Regions from separate parts of the Homo sapiens genome. Here region 1 is linked to region 2. Evidence: promoter capture Hi-C in 16 types of primary human blood cells and fetal thymus (Javierre and others, 2016). All regions are on one chromosome and are shown on one strand. Each heading gives the region's core, a stretch centred on a gene start or on the middle of the fragment in contact. The rest is flanking DNA. Distances are from core to core; before and after follow the strand shown.

Region 1 (4,811 bases), core at 1,873-4,372, 44 kb before region 2:
AGCCCTCTTAACCAAAAGAAACTTTACATTCTTATTGTGGGTAAATCAGAAGAGAGAGGCAAACTTGAGGATAACAGAGAGAATTGCCTCGTATTCATACTTTTTATTTTTTAATTTTTTGAGACAGGGTCTCACTCTGTCACTCAGGCTGGAGTGTAGTGGCATGATCAGGGCTCACTGCAGCCTCAACCTCCCTGGGCTCAAGCAATCCTCCCACCTGAGGCTCCTGAGTAGCTATGACTACAGGCATACACCACCATACCTGGCTAACTTTTTTGTATTTTGTAGAGACAGGGTTTTGCTATGTTACTCAAGCTGATCTCGAACTCCTGGGCTCAAGCGATCTGCCTGCCTTGGCCTCCCAAAGTGCTAGGATTACTGGTGTGAGCCACCGTGCCTGGCCTCTACTGGCTTTTGAGACTCACAAATGATGGTGAGCCAGGAGTTGATAGGACTATATTTATTAAACACTCTGTGAGGCTCTGTGCCCAAGATACACTGCCTCAGGGCCCAGGGGACAGTTAGAGAAGGGGTCTTTAGATCTCTGCCACCACCTTCCAAAGCACACATGCACACCTCACACAGTCATAAGCCACAGGGTAATTCTGGCACCTGTGGGCCAAGAATGAGCAGCCATGAGCAGAGGTTGGTTGGGTCTCACAGAGTAGCATTTGCATGGAGAGAGCTCCCAGCAATGGCAATAGCAACACGCATTGATAAGAAAATTAGAAAACAAGAAGAAAAGCATATCTGCTTTTGAACATGAACACATGTGCATCACTTTTCGGGCTCCCAGAAATAACAACAGTAGGTTTTAAGCAGTGATGTATGTAGAAAGTAGAAGTAATATCAATTTACGCATTGATGTTAATATAATATCATTTAAATCCACATATTAACGAGGCCTGAGAACATTTAGATTACACAAGTCAGAATGAGATCAGAATTATGTAAGAATTATGGAAAAAGTGGTATTGGACCACCAAAAAAAGAAGGAAACTTGAAGGACATTAGTGAGGGCTTAGTGTAGAATGTAGCATGTGTACTAAGCTTTCTAGGATATGTAGGATTCCAATGGGCAGAAAAGGTGGGCATGGTATGACAGAGAGAGACAGAAATGGGTTAACAAAGGAAGTTTAGTGCAACACCTAGGTCAACGCTGGCATTGGAATTAGGACAGCTGTCACCGGCAACTATGAGGCAGAAATTTCCATAGTGTTCAAGAAGTCCTAGTCAGATTTTAATGGGCTAAGGGATGTGTGAAGAAGTAAAAGTGGACAGTAACATTGTTCCTTTAAGAAGTCTGTGAGTAAAGGGGACTGCCCAGGGAAAATGTTTCTGTAATAGGGAAGGATTAAGTATATATTTGTAGAGTAAGAGGCCAGGATACTGTGGAGAGGAGCACTGAAGACCCAAGAGCAGGGGGATCATGGGTGGATCAAGGTCTTAGAGGAGGCTGGCTAGGAGAGGATTAAGAGCACAAGTGAAGGGGTTAACCTTTGAAAGAAGGGGGGTTGCCTCCAGGGAGAACAGCTGAAATTAAGAAATTATGAAGTAGAGAGAAGAAGTTGAGATTGTTCAAATAAGAAAAATAACTTGAACACAAAACATCTGGTCAACTCAGTCTCAAATTCAACCAGCCAGATGTTAATTCTGCATGGCATCACCACATGTGTTCATATTAACATTTTCACTGAACTTATGATGTTTCCAAATTACTTAGATATAGCCAGGGTGAAAGGAATTAATCAAGTCAATTATTTGAATATTTTATTACTTTAGTCTAAAATTATTAAAATGTCACCTAATTTGGGGGAAAAAAAAGTGTCTTAGGAAACATAAGTGCTGACCTAAATGAGATAATGAACAAGATGTAGGAAACTTACAGGAATCACATAAAATAACATAAGCATAGTTTTTCTGCTACCATGTTTATTTTCTAATTAGCATTTGTGGCTAAGTTGAAAGAATTGAAATGACAATAAAGTAATGATTTATCAGTTGGCACAATTATTCTTCCTTGGTTGACATAGATTTCAAAGTTTATTATTGAAATTATAATTATATCCTACAGTCTGACTGTGTCTGAGAAGGAGGATTAGACTATTTGATGCTATTTTGTGATACACAGAGTCCAATCAGCCTACAGAAAAATCTTTAGAGTTGTTATAAAGCTATGCTGAAGCACTAGTATAACAAAGCATCAAGCACTATTAAAGGTCAATTCTCTAATTCATAAATTTAAGACCATGCTTATTTGTAGGTTTACAACCATTATAAATCAACGCATTTGCAACCACCTAAGGATAATAACTAATTAGTCCTCAAATAGCATTTTTATGAGCCAAATTAAGATTAAAGATAAGACTGAAGTACATGCTTACATGCCTTTCTTTTGTACACTCTGAAAATCTGCAGTGTACACTGCACAGATACATTCACACAACCCTACCAGGCGAAAAGCTCTGCTGTCCCTTACAAGATTGATTCATAGGATAAAAGAATGACTGGAAAAAGAAAAAAATCTAATATATAATCCAACAATAGAGGTAGATTAATCAATGCCTATTAGACTGGCCCAAGTAATTATCAAAATAGAACACTTTAGTTTCATTACTTTATGAGAACATTTGCTTTATTATGACTCCTAAGTAGTACATTTAGCTAGTACCTCACTACTATCAAAGTAAATGGCATATAGACATAACAAGATAATTTACATGTAATTAGTCATAATAAAGTAGAAATTAATTCTGGATTTGGAGACAGAAGAACTGAGTTCTAGACACAACTGTTTATTATTTTTGAAATTTTAGGTGAATTCCTTAATGTCATTCAACCTCATTTTTCATCTATAAAATGGTGATAAAGTACTACATCACAGAAGTCATTGTGGTACCATTGATACAAGAAGGCAAAATTACTTTGTAAATCATATAACATTCATAAATGTAAGGTGGTATTATAAGAATCATTATCATTGTTGGAAACTGGGTAGTCACATGTGCCTTGTTCTTAAGTCTTCTTTGGTGAAAAGATCTAGTACAAGAATTAGAAGTAAGGTGCCTTATTTTTTGAGGTGCTGGTGAAAAGAAATTATTGGTTGCCTAAAATATGCAAGTAGCTGTACCAATAAATTTCAAATATCCCTTCAATTTAAACTTAAGATCATACCAATTCAACTAGCACTAAACACCACTGTGTGTCAGGTACCACGAGGGACACAAACATGAATCAGTTGGATGTAATCTCTACCCTGTAAGGCTTATATATCTGAACAATTTCCTGCCTGGCCAAAGAATGGGAGTTCTGATGTGAGCAATGGAGTCTAAAGAAAAATAATACCTTTCCGATTATATGATACCATATGAGAGGCCTATTACCTATTTTGAATGACCGTAGACTTTCATTAGAACTTAAGCCATCTGGATGTGGTGGGGAAAATCGTATATCAGTTCTTCAAAATTTTTGCCAGGGGCTTATGTAATGTTTGTGAGCATCAGAGAAAATCAAACTGCCTGCCACCTTGGATATGGATAAATTGGGTTGTCAATGTTTTACTCATATAGAAATTATCTCATGTAATTATATTTATTGTATTTTTCCATGTCTTAACCTCCTAGGGCCTTCCCTCACCTTAGATGTCTTTCTTCTCCCCAGAACTTGATTCATCTCTGACTCTCAGTAGTCTCTTCAGTTTTCAAAGCCTAGTTTAAATCCCATAGTCTTCAAGATATTTTTTTATCATCCCAAATATAAGAGATTTTGTCTTTATATTTGTTCCGTTGAACATTTAAAGCATTAACTGTATGCTTATAATTATAATTATAATTAAGTCTGTCTTCATTTCTTGCCCCTAAGAGGAGAGATATCACACACTCCCTAGAGGCAAGAACCGTATCTTATACCTCTTTCTGCAAACTCTTTACTAATGTTCTGTCCTGTGTTTCAACAAGACAAGTGAAAAACTACTCCTTTTTTCCTCAGAAATGAGAACCTACCCTCTTTTCCTTAGAAAGTTTATGTACATTTGAGGCTAGAAAATGGATAAGTTTGTAAATGAATTGCAGCTTCTCACTTTCATTCCATTTTATGTGAGGCTTTTTTGGGTAATTTAATTGTTAAGAATACATTCTTTGAAGGCAATAATAGTGACATTATTGTTTCTTACTATAGGAACTTTAGTTTCTTAAATGTATAAATAGATTTATGGTTTTTCCATTTTAACTCATGTGAAACACAAAAATATTTTAATTTTATAAGATTTTATCTACTAATGTCCACAAATAGACATTAAACTTAAAACATTTCTGTACCTTTTAAACAAACTTATTTCTCTCTGGCTAATAAATGAATGGTCAAGTCCAAGAAAAAACTTTAAGTCATATGAATGTTGTAGAATTTATACACATATGATTAATTACTGATATGTTCTACTTTTCCCAATACTGAGTTATATGAAATCTGAAAGAGCAAAATCACAACTTACTTAAATTTGATAATGATAACATCAAATGTTTCCAAAATCAGTAAATAACAATACTGAACTAATAATATTTCATATTACATTACATCTTAATAGCTATTTCTATACTAAGAAATTTATTGCTGCCTATTAACAATTCTGAATTTTCTAGAAAAAATAAAATAGGTGCTTTTGACTATTGAGTAGTAAATATTTGTATATGTTCTTTCCATTTAAAAAAAGTATGACTTAATGACTAACCTCAGATTCTTGGTATGCCAAACTGCAATGAAGGAAATACAGTGATGACATAATCATGTATAACAGTCATACAATCTCATAAAAA
Region 2 (4,264 bases), core at 661-3,160:
CATAAATTTTCTGCCTCTGGGGGTCACCCTCCTCTTTTTCATCCTGAAGAGATATTCCTACACAAAAACCCTGTCAGCCCTCCTCAGGAAGGGGCATTTATGCATGTTTTTCACCACTGGAATACCTAAATATCTCAGCTTTGCAGGCCCATATCAAAGATCTCTCTACTTAGAGAGGGTCCTGCAAGTTTCCCACCACTCAAAAACAAGGAGATGCCAAGACCCCACATACGAGCAGGGGCTCTTTTCTTTCTTTTTTTTTTTTCCCTTTAGTCTCCTAAAGAATTATAGCAGTGTTTGATTCGGGCAGAGGGGGAGGCATTGGTGTTCTCTCCTTTTTGGGGAGGGGTGGTGGTTGAAAATAGATACTGGTGTGCGTTTGTTTCATCTCCTCCATTAACAGGCAGATGTAAATTCCCCTACAGCAGAGTGATTATCCTCACATCTTAATCCTCCTCAGACTTATCCAAGCAGAAGATGGGACTGAGTCGTCTTGGAATTGGGGATTGAGGGAGGTGGCGCAATTTATTTCCCTTACTCTTCCATCTCCCAATCTCAAGCTGTGGCCGATGATCACTCTCTTGCCTCTATTCACGGATTGTTCTATTAAAACTACTTATTATCAGCATTCTGGGCCCTCCTCTTTTTGCTCTCCAGCCCACTGTCCCCTGAGGCTGACAAGGCACGCTGGTCCCCTCTGCCTCTTCACCTTCTCATCAAATGAAGCTCCTCGGGGGCTCCTGTGGCACCCGCCTGTCCCCCAGCTCCTCTGCCCACCCTCTTGCCGGCTTCCCGCTCCCTCCGTAACCTCTAAGGGGGTTCGCTTACGCGCCCGCCTGCTCTCGGGGAGCTAGCGTGCCCGACGGCGTGCTTGGTTCCGGGCCAACAAACTTCCTCGCGACCCTGCAGCGCCCTAGCTGGGCCGCCCGGCGCCGCCTCCTGGTTCTCGGCCGCTGTGGCTGCGGCGCCGGCGCGCTCTCGGCGGTGGCCTCGGGACTCTGACAGCGGAGGCGGCAGAGGCTGGGGCCGCGTCTTCCTCGCGCCGCGACTGGGACGTTCCGGCGGCGGCGGCGGTGGCTGCAGGGAGGACTGCGGGGACGGCGGCGGCGCTGTGGCCGACCGCGCTGCGCATGCTGCAGGGTAATTAAGGAACAGGGCCGGACGCTCCGGAACGTGGTGGGGCTGGAGTCCGGGAATCCCCGCCCGCGCCCGCGCCGCCCCCCAGAAGCCGCACTTGGGAAAAACACCCACATGTGGAGTAGGTAACCCCGGGCCGGAGGGCACCGCACCGGAACCCCGCGTCTCTTAGCTTACGCCGCTTAACTGGCTGCCTCGCTTCCAGGGCTAACACCGTCAAAAAAAAAAAAAAAAAGCGCTCTAACGGCATGAATTGATAGTGAGTTTGTTTTACTCCTTTAACCCCCCATTTTTTTTGTAATGTATTTGATGTCTGTCCCTACCCGCATCAGCAGTGCTCCATAGTTCCGCTTCACAGACACACATAGCCAGAAAAACCACCTAGAACTTAGGTGTAACGCATGAAGCCTGCATCATGTGAACATAGGAACACGAACTACATGGTATGTACCACATGAGAGTGGCCGTCTCCTGCCAAACGTTTTTGGTCCCATCCTTAAGGCCCCTATGGAAACGTATGCAGGTGTGCATTATTTATCCACCTAAACATATTTCCATGTGTAGCACAGTTTTTACATTTTCTTGAAAAGCAGATGCACACAGATAACTAGGAACACGAGCAGATGACATAGCCCGGGCATGTGTGAGAGGGCAAGTGCAGAGCCGGTCGCAAAGCCGCGCAGCTTACCTTGAATTCGTATTTGAGCCCCTCAGAGGCGCAGTGGAGTCCGGACAGGGCTGCGGCACCGCCGAGGAGTGAGCTCCCTGCGAGTGGGGAAGGGGGACGCATCTCTGCCCTTATTAGTCTCTCCCAGTGTGACCCTCCCACTCCGCGAGGACAGAGGACTCTGCAAGAAGGTACTCAGCCAACTCAGGCACAGGTTTTCTTTAATGACAGCGATGTCGCCTTAGAGCTGGGAGTAATGCCTTTCAGGTTTATGTTTTACTAGCAGTTTCACAGATAAAATGACGGTTGGATGCAAATGCCTAGAGTTTCTCACTTCTGATCATGAAGTGTCTTCAAAGTATTATTGTATGTGGCAAACGTTCACGAGTAGGTAATTGGCTTTTTAACGGTTGAGCTAAGAAAATATATCATTTATGTTTCATTTTTTCACTTTTATGTCAAGAGTTTATATAAAGTTGATTAAGGCAGTCTGCCCACCTTCTAATCACGCTCATATGTAAACGTTTGTGTGGCTTGGTTTTTCTCAGTGTCCACAGAAGTATTTTGTGATTTTAAATACATCTTTCCATGGGTTGGTGCTTCCAATCTTGGCTTTTGAACTCTTTTGGGATCCCTTTGAATATGTGAAAGTGTCATTTTCCTGCAGATTTCTGTGTAGGTGCATGTATGTGTGTGTAGAGAGAGTATATATATATTTGTAGGCATATATAGTAGGTTTATATACATATATAGGAGGTATATATGGATACTTGTAGGCATATATATTTGTAGGTATATATACATATATAGTAAATTTATATGTATACATATAGTGTATGCATATGTATGTGTATATATGAAAAACAGAATGATTTATAGAATTCAGAAGAGTAAACCAGGCATTAGAAAACAGATAAACTGGTTTTACATTTTTATTTCAGTATTGCCACAGTGGGAGAAATAGGATAAATTATATTATTGATCCACAATGGTGAAAATCATCAAGCTTAAAAGTTACCTTAGAACCATAGAAATACACTTCACATATCAGAGCTCACAGATCAAGGAATAAATAAAATCAGGCAGGCAAAAAATAAAGATGTTAAGAAAAATGTTAAAAGATAGCTCCTTTCCACTTCATTGGAGTGAAACCATTAAAGTATCACTTGTGATTTTTAAACTTCTCTCTCAACCTAATCAAGATACCTGCAGTTTTAGAGTTCGGCATTCATGGTGATGCAAACCATGTTTCTATGTCAGGATTTAAAACCACTTGATACATTTCCTTCTCATATGATTTTCATCACTAATTTTTGGCTGACTGTGGAAAGAGGCCAAGGAGGGAGGATATTGCATGAGTCACGCTACTCAAATGGCCATTTGAAAAACATGATTCACAAACCTTCATTAGACTTTTGGTGATCAGTCTCTATTTTTTTGAAGTATTATCCCATTTGATTTTTTTCTTTCTCTAAGCAATTTTACTTTATATACCTTGCCATCACTAATGAATTGAACTAAGAGCATCCAGGCTTTATTTCTTTGTCAGACTATTAAATTCACCTTATTTACACTTAATTGAAACTATTTAAAGTAATGCTTTAAAACTACCTAAAAGGAAGTCCACAATTTTGTCTCTAATTTTTGTTTTAATACAAGTAAATCAAGTTTATCTTAGAATTATTTTCTTAAACATTTTAATAATTTCATAATTGTTAAGATATTTGAGAGAGCTAAACACTTATATTTTTGTTTATATTTCAAAATGGCCCTTTTCTTATTTCTAATATTGACCCAAGCAAGATTTTGGAAGAAAGTGAAAAATGAATAAATAAAACTTCAAATTATTATTATCTGTTGCTTATTCTGTTTCTAGATACACCAACATCCCCAGGGCAACAAATATTTCTCTATTTTTCTTTCAGGAAAGGGTTTGAATCTAGGCTGGTTTCATGATTACAAACTATTGTATACCTAGGGTTTGCTTCTTTAGCCAGTTCTTTTTATTGAATTTTAAAGTGACTTCAATTAGGAAGAACCTTTAGCCAAACACCTTTTATTTATCTAAGCCAAATACAATTATAAATGATCCGGTTTTCTTCTTGCTTCTGAAGCTACTGCTGGTAAACAAACATCTGAAAATATCAGGGGAATCTGACAGCACTCTAAGTTTTAATAAACAGCTTGCAGCACTTCTAACACCAAGTTCATCTGTGTGCACGTATGTACTTAAAAAATTTAACAGATTTAAAAAACGAACTTCTTTCAACATTTATGCCTAAAGGAAGATACAATTAAATGTTTTTATGTCATGTGAGGGATAAATTCCATTGAAAACATTTTAAAAAACTGTTCCATATTTGTAATGCCCCACTGATATAAATTTAACAATTTACAATGATCATTGTACCATTTTTTATAATTTGGATTTAATACATTTTTAAAATGTGTTTCTCCTAA

The links. The method cuts DNA at HindIII sites, captures the fragments that hold promoters and counts their contacts. A CHiCAGO score of 5 or more calls a contact.
Region 1: a fragment that was not itself captured here is called in contact with the fragment with the promoter of COL19A1 in region 2 in 2 of 17 cell types (naive B cells and total B cells); the score reaches 7.2 in naive B cells.

Annotation. Positions count from the first base shown.
Region 1 is chr6:69,908,398-69,913,208 of GRCh38, reverse strand. All of the region lies in intron 4 of COL19A1 (collagen type XIX alpha 1 chain), which reads right to left. Among named protein-coding and RNA genes, the nearest start is that of COL19A1, 44 kb to the right of the region's middle. The HindIII fragment of the contact is 4,140 bases long and covers 1,053-4,811 here.
Region 2 is chr6:69,864,202-69,868,465 of GRCh38, reverse strand. It overlaps COL19A1 (collagen type XIX alpha 1 chain), which reads right to left and starts at 1,910. Exons shown (of 51, transcript NM_001858.6): 1 at 1,826-1,910. RefSeq lists silencers at 873-942, 953-1,002, 1,223-1,272. The HindIII fragment of the contact is 9,714 bases long and covers 1-2,812 here.